2 separate regions of the Homo sapiens genome follow, and region 1 is linked to region 2. Evidence: promoter capture Hi-C in human tissues and cell types (Jung and others, 2019). All regions are on one chromosome and are shown on one strand. Each heading gives the region's core, a stretch centred on a gene start or on the middle of the fragment in contact. The rest is flanking DNA. Distances are from core to core; before and after follow the strand shown.

Region 1 (3,511 bases), core at 742-3,241, 500 kb before region 2:
TTCAAGTTCACAGAATCTTTCTTCTGCTTGATCTAGTCTGCTGTTGAAGCTCTTGATTGTATTTTTCATTTCATTGATCAAATTCTTTAATTCTAAGATTTATGTGTGGTTTTAAAAAAAATGATATCTATCTCTTTATTGAATTTCTCATTCAGATCATAAACTGTTTTCCTGATTTCATTGAATTATCTATCTGTATTCTTTTGTATCTTCCTGGATTTCCTTTAAATCATTATTTTGAATTCTTTTTTAGGCAGTTGGTAAATTTTCATTTTCTTGGAGTCAGTTACTGAAGAATTGTTGTGTTCCTTTGATGGTATCATATTTCCTTCGTTTTTTGTGTTTCTTGTATCCTGCATTGACGTTTGTGCATCTGGTGGAGCAGTCACCTCTCTCAAACTTTACACAGTGGCTTTTGTTGGGAAAGATTTTCACCCACAGATGGGCTTGAGGGAGACAATTGGGCAGGGCGTGATGGGTCTGGTCCCAGGTGGGTGTAGTTATGTAATTCTCCATGTAGCTTCTTTACCTGTGATGAACATCAGCAATGACTGTGGGTGCCTCAGTGGTCTAGGCTGCAAGATTTTGTGGCAACAGTGGTGGCAGCATATGTTATTAGGATTCTTGGTGGCAAGAGCTTTAGAGATTCTCCTGTACTTTTCTTCTCCACCACTTAGCTGAAGTGTCTTAGCTGAAGGAATCTCTCTTCGTTTCAAGCCTGACATGGCCCACAGGTAATGGTGCTGGGATCCAGGGCCCAGGTGCTCTGAGTGTCTGTAGAGCCAGAGTCCTGGGCTGGGCTCAGGGTCTTGCAAAACTACTATAGGACCTGGGACTTGAGGTTCAGTTCACTCTCTGAGGCACAAGTGGCTTTAGTTCTCTAATAAAGCTGGGGTCTGTTGCTCTGAGGCATATCCTAGCAGCTGAGGCCCATGGAGCTAGGTTGTAGCTATGACTGTGGTCCTGGTGGTCAGGGCATAGTACTGACTTGGCTCTGGGAAGAAGGGGTACTCTGAGGGTTTGGCCCTGGGGAGCAAGGCACAACTGCAGTTCAGGTCCCAGAACCAATAGGAAACAGTGACAACTTGGGCCCTGAGGGATGAGATACCACACAGTAGTGACTCTGGATTCTGAGAATGTGAGGCATGACAGTAACCCAGGCTCTGTGAGGCCAGTTGTTGCAGCAGCAATGACCCAGGAATGGCCCAGCTGTGGCTTAGGCCCTGAGGACCGGGGAGTAGACAGTGATGACTCTATTCCCCATGGAGTGGGCATGCCTCAGCAGCTTGGACTCTGGGGGACTACTCCAGTTTTAGGGAGGCAGGGCCTTTAGCTGTGGAGCCTAAAAGGTGGGGTAGAACAGCTCAGCCAAGGGTAAGTTTCCCTGGAATATGAGGTGCCACATCAGCTCAGCTCCAGAGTATGGCTACACACATTGCCAGGGGCTCTAGTTCTCTGAGGGGTGGGGTGCAGCATTGGCTTGGGCACTGGGGGCGCAAGACTGCTCTGTAGGGCTGAAGCTTAGGGTCCATAGAAAGCAGGGCACTACCTCAGCTATGGTACTTGGAGATGCAACTGCCAGAGGTTTGAGATCCCAGAGCAGTGAGGAAGAGTGTTAGCTCAGACCCTGAGGGCAGGGTGCTCCAGTGACTGAAATCGGGGGGATGGAGTGTCTCCACAGTAGCTTAGCTCAGGGGTAGGTTGTAGTAACAGCTTGACTTAGAGATGGTAATGCTATCATGTGGGCATGGTACAGTGGCAGCAAAGACTCAGGGATGGAGAGGTGCAATGGCTACTCATCCCTGGAGCAGAACACAGTCTGGCAGTGGCCCTAATTCCAAGACGGTGTAGAACAGCAGCAGCTCAGACCACAAGGAGAGAGATACAACATCAGCTCTTTCTCTGGGGTAGTGCAGTGTGTAGACACTGGGGAGCTCCCTTAACTAGGATCAGAATCTGTGAGGACTGTGGGAGTCTCCAATAATGAAGAATGCAGATGTCCACAGTGGTGATGGGGGTTTCAGGAGTCCTCTTGCTTACCTTTCCCTGCAGAGAGAAAGTCTCTCCTGGTTATGAGCTGATCCTTACTGGGCGACCAGTTGGTGGAGGCAAACTGTTTCCTTCCCTTCTCTACGTAGCCATACTGGATTTCTGTGCTTCACAGGATTTCTGTTGCTCCTTTTCTCTTCTCTAGTGTTCTCCTTTAGTTATTTTGGTTGAAATGTAGTTGTATATTCATTGTTTTGTTTTTGTGTGTGTTGCAAGGCAACGAGTTCTACGAACTTCTAGTTGACCATCTTGCTGAAATCACCCCTAATTTTACCCATTTTAAAAGTGCAATTCAATAGCATTAATTACATTTGCAATATGGTACAACCATCATCACTATTTCCAAAACCATTTTCATCCTTCCAAATGGAAACTCTGTAACCATAAACAATAACTCCTTCTTCCTTCACCCCTCAGCCTCTAGTAATCTCTAATATACTTTCTGTCTCCATACATTTGACCATTTTAGGTATTTCATATTAGTGGAATCATACAATATACGTGCTCTTGTGTCTAGCTTATTTTACTAAGTATGATGTTTTCTCTCCCTCCCTCCCTTCCTTCCTCCCTCCCTCCCTTTCTCTCTCTCTCTCTCTCTCTCTTTCTTTCTTTCTCTCTTTCAATGGAGTTTTGCTCTTGTTGCCCAGGCTGGAATGCAATGGCATGGTCTTGGCTCACAGCAACCTCTACCTCCTGAGTTCAAGTGATTCTCCTGCCTCAGCCTCCCAAGTAGCTTGGATTACAGGTCCGCACCACCATGCCTGGCTAATTTTTGTAGTTTTAGTAGAGGCGGGGTTTCACCATGTTGGCCAAGCTGGTCTTAAACTCCCGACCTCAGGTTATCTGCTTGCCTCGGCCTCCCAAAATGCTGGGATTACAGATGTGAGCCACTGCGCCCGGCCCTGATGTTTTCAAGTCTTAACCATGTATAGCATATATAAGAACTTCATTCATTTTAAAGCTGAATAGTATTCCATTTGTATGTATATATCACATTTTGTTTACCCATTCATCTGTTGATGGATACATGGGTAGTCTCTGACTTTGAGCTATTATGAACTATGCTGTGATGAACACTGGCATTCCAGTATCTGTTTGAGTCCTGCTTTCAATTCCTTTGGGTATTGAGATTGCTAGTAGTGGAATTGCTGGTTCATATAGTAATCCTATGTTTAGCTTCTTGAGGAACTGGCAAATTGTTTTTCACAGGAGCTGCACCATTTTATATTTATGCCAATGACACACAAGAGTTCCAATTTCTCCATATCCTTGCTAACATATGTTATTTTCCATTTTTAAAATTATAGCCATCCTAGTATCTGTGAAGTGATATCTCATTGTGCCTCTTTAATTTTCATTTCCCTAGTGGTTAGTGATGTTGAGTATCTTATCGCATCCTTATTGACTATGAGTATATCTTCTTTGGAGAAATATTTATTCAAGTCCTTTAACTACTTTTTAG
Region 2 (3,514 bases), core at 268-2,767:
ACCTTCCTGCAGGAGTGCAGGGATGGGGGATACTGAAGCCCATTTACTAGTAAGAAGTGTCTCACACATTCCGGGGGCTTCAGGCGAACCCCATAGGTCTCTGGCGCTCCTGGGCCTGAAGGCCCCGCCCGCCCTCCTCCACCCCCGCAGGGTGCCGAGAATCCGGCCCGAGGCGCGCGGGCGGGAGGTGCTCCCGGAGTCTGCACCGCCAGAGCTAACGCCGCCTCCTCCAGGCAACCTAGGCAGGTCCCAAGCTGCACTTCCGAACCTCCCCGCCGTTCCTCTGCGCCCCGGATCCAAGCAGCCGAAACCGCGCAGGGACTCGGGGGAAGTGGGGCCCCGGGAGGAAACCCACCTAGGAGCCGGGCCCCGCCCCTCCCGCCGCCAGCCTCCTACAGGTCCCGGGGGTCCCCCCGGCGCGGCCAGAAGGCGGCCGCGCCCCAGCCGCTCAGGGACCCGCGATCCCAGTCACAAACCATTTCAATCCAGATCACACACCACTTCGGCCACCCCAGAGCGGTGGGGGAGAGGAGGTTTCAGGGACCAACAAAAGGGATGCCAAAGAGCCCGTTTCCATCAAGCGGCCCGCGGGCTGGGAAAGTCAGGACCCGGGAGCCGCCGGCGCCCCCACCCCCGCCGCAAGAGCCGCTTCTCCGGGGCCACGTCCACCCCAGGATTCTGCCAGGCATCAGGCCGCCCTGGGGGTGGGGGGACGCTCCGAGACAGACGGGGGACACTCGGGGCCGTGTGCCCTTGAAGGAGGAAGACCTCGGGGAGGAAGCCCGGGTCCTGGGACCCTCGGGGCACATCTGCGGACTCGGGTCCCGGGCCCAGGGCGGGTACTCACATTCACACTCGCACTCCCACTCGCGACCCTCGGGAAGCGCCACCGAGAGGCTCCCAGCCGCCGCCGCCCGCCCCCAGACTCTGGAAACACTTAGGCGTCCCCAGAGCGCGGCTTATTGTAACCAGCCCGAGGGGGTCCGGGGTGCGGGCCGGGAGCGGCGTCGGGCGAGATGCGAATGGCCCTGCCTGGCGCCCCTCGTTCAGGAGCATGGGCGCCGGCGCAGCGGCCGGGAGCATAGTGGCGGCGGAAGGGCTGGCCAAGCGAGCCGTGAGCTACCGTCTGCGCACAAGCCGGAACGCCAGATCCTACCTGAAGTCCGGGACACTGAGAGCAGAAGCGCGGCGGCCGCCCAGACGGCCGGGATGCACAGCAGCGGCCGCCGCGGGAGCGCCGAGCCCCGGGCCATGCCGCAGGCAGTGGGGGCCGGGAAGCCCTCAGAGCTTCGGGCCGGGGCGCGGGGTCGGGCGCCACCACCCCTTTCTACGATGCGTCCGCTCCTCCTTCTCCCTGGCGCTTCGCAAACGGGTCCACTTCGAGGACCTCGTCGTCGTCCTCTTCTCCGGCCCGGATGCGCCGCTCGGCTCCGGCCACGGCAAGGGCTGGCTGGGGAGGTTCCTTGGCGCGGGCTGGGGCGTCCCGCCGGCCGCCAGGACGAGCGCGGGGGGCGGACCGCGGGCGAGCGCGCAGGAGGCAGGGTCCCCGCTCGCCCGCCCCGATGGGCAGAGCGAGGCTTGCGCCGGCGCCCCCTGCCGGGGGAACGCGCGGGCGGCGGGCGGGACCCAAGGAGCTGGGGCTGCAGCTGGGGCCCCGGACCTGCCTCCTGCGCCCGCCCTCGGGCCTGCGCCTCGGAACGCTTGAACACAAAGGTGGCGCCTTGGGGGCGTCAGCCGGAGTTCGGCGGGTCTGCCCACGCAGGAGAGGCGCCCAGAGCGGGTGCCCCCGACTTTCGGGGGCGACACACCCGGGGATCTAGGTCACAAATCAGTAACTCCAGGCTGCACTGCGCACCGGGACAAATCTGAGAGCCACCCAGCCCCAGACACCAGCGGTGAGGCAGGAAGAGGAGAAGCGAAAGTTGCAAAAGGAAATGTTCAGGAAAACAAACAGGCCGCCTTGGCACCGGCGCCCTCCCAGGTCGGTGGGGACAAGCGCGTCCCCCGAAATGCTCAAAACTGCCAGGGGTCGAGCTGCGTGGAGGGAGCCCTCGGGAGCGCGATGCTATCCGAAGCCACCGCGGCTTTTGGTTTACTGTTAAAAGCAAATTGTATAATTTTACCCATTAAAGGCAGAACACTATTTGTTCTCTGCAGAGGCCCAGAATGTGCAGAATTTGCTTCACTTATTAGAGACATTTTGAACGGAATTCAAATAGCATGTTTTCTTGCTTATTCTTGGTTTTGCTCAGCACATGCAAATGTCTTTGTTTTTCCTCTTAGAGGAAGGAATTGGATTCTCCAGCATCTCAGTTGCTTGTTCCATGAGATTGATCTTTTAACTGATTATCCAGCAGTTTGTTTGGTGTTTTTGCTGGAGTACCAAGCTCTGTTAATTGGAGGGCATTAGGGAGAGCCCTGGCCTTGGGTGCCAGACGTGAGGCCTCAGACGTGGCCAGAAATAAAAACTCTCTTGCTATGGTCTGCGGACAAAATGACTAAGCCAGCTCTAGCTTGTTACCTCTGTTAAAAGTATTTAGGCGTCCGGCTATCTCTACCCAATTTGTGTAGGGAAATATCTCACGCAGTTCTCATTCCCAGGAGCTGCTGTAAATCCAGTAGGAGAATGGGAGAAGATCCTAGCCCCTCCTCAACTGGATGGCAAAATTATTACCAAACTTCTTAGACGGGCTCAGGCTGTTCCTCTGCCCAGGCTGGTGCGGGTCTGAACGGGGGGGCTGCTCTCCCCAGTGGTTAGAGGACTGCCAGGGGTTTATCTTTGGGGTTTTCCTCCCTTTAGCTTCCCTTAGAATCCTTAAGGATGCTTTTAGAGTAATGTTTTAAGAGTAGGTGCTGAAGCACTTAGTTCCACACCCCTCTCTTCTGGATCTAGGGAAAACCCAACAGGGGCTGCAGAGAAGGGTCTTGAACCTGCCCTGGAAAACCCCTCCCTCAGCAATGCTGTGTCCTTTCCGTGGTGCTGTGCAGCTCGGAGAAGGTGGTCCCAGCACCTTTGCTTTCCACTTCACACAGCGTGAGCATGTGGCTCCAGAACCATTTCATCAGCAGCCCTGCCATTTATTTTTGTGTGACCTTCAGGAAAATGACCTCATCATGCCCCCATCTGTGTGTTATTTTCACATGACTGAGGCCCCACAAACCCAACTCAAAGGTTTAAACAGCAACATATATTTTGCTGACAGTTTCTTGGGTGGAGTCAGAAATGTGGGTTATATTGCATATGATTTCTTAAAAGCCTTTTAAAGCTTTCTTTTTTGGCATTTCTCTCTCACTCTCTCCTTCCCTTTCTGTAGGTTCTGAACTGAAGGATAAACAAAAAAAGCAAAGTTGGAAGGATGAAAATACAAGCTTTCTCAGTGGTTAAGAGAATATGGCTTACGTCCAAGGCCAAATTGGAGCAACATATTCCTTTCCATCTGTATTAGTCATCAATTGCCACATAACAAATTGCCCCACGATTTAACAGCTAAAAACAGTAAACATTCGTTATTTC

Evidence for each region. The method cuts DNA at HindIII sites, captures the fragments that hold promoters and counts their contacts. A contact is called where the count stands out against the background at its distance.
Region 1: a contact is called between a fragment that was not itself captured here and the fragment with the promoter of ROR2 in region 2, in 1 of the 25 tissues and cell types used here (mesenchymal stem cells).

What each region holds. Positions count from the first base shown.
Region 1 is chr9:91,444,165-91,447,675 of GRCh38, forward strand. It overlaps a transcript of NFIL3 not described here. Among named protein-coding and RNA genes, the nearest start is that of NFIL3, 22 kb to the left of the region's middle. The HindIII fragment of the contact is 5,612 bases long and covers 1-3,511 here.
Region 2 is chr9:91,948,711-91,952,224 of GRCh38, forward strand. ROR2 (receptor tyrosine kinase like orphan receptor 2) reads right to left here and starts at 1,518. Exons shown (of 9, transcript NM_004560.4): 1 at 1,157-1,518. The coding sequence starts at 1,253. RefSeq lists enhancers at 309-810, 811-1,310 and silencers at 1,504-1,683, 1,797-2,091. The HindIII fragment of the contact is 10,523 bases long and covers 1-3,514 here.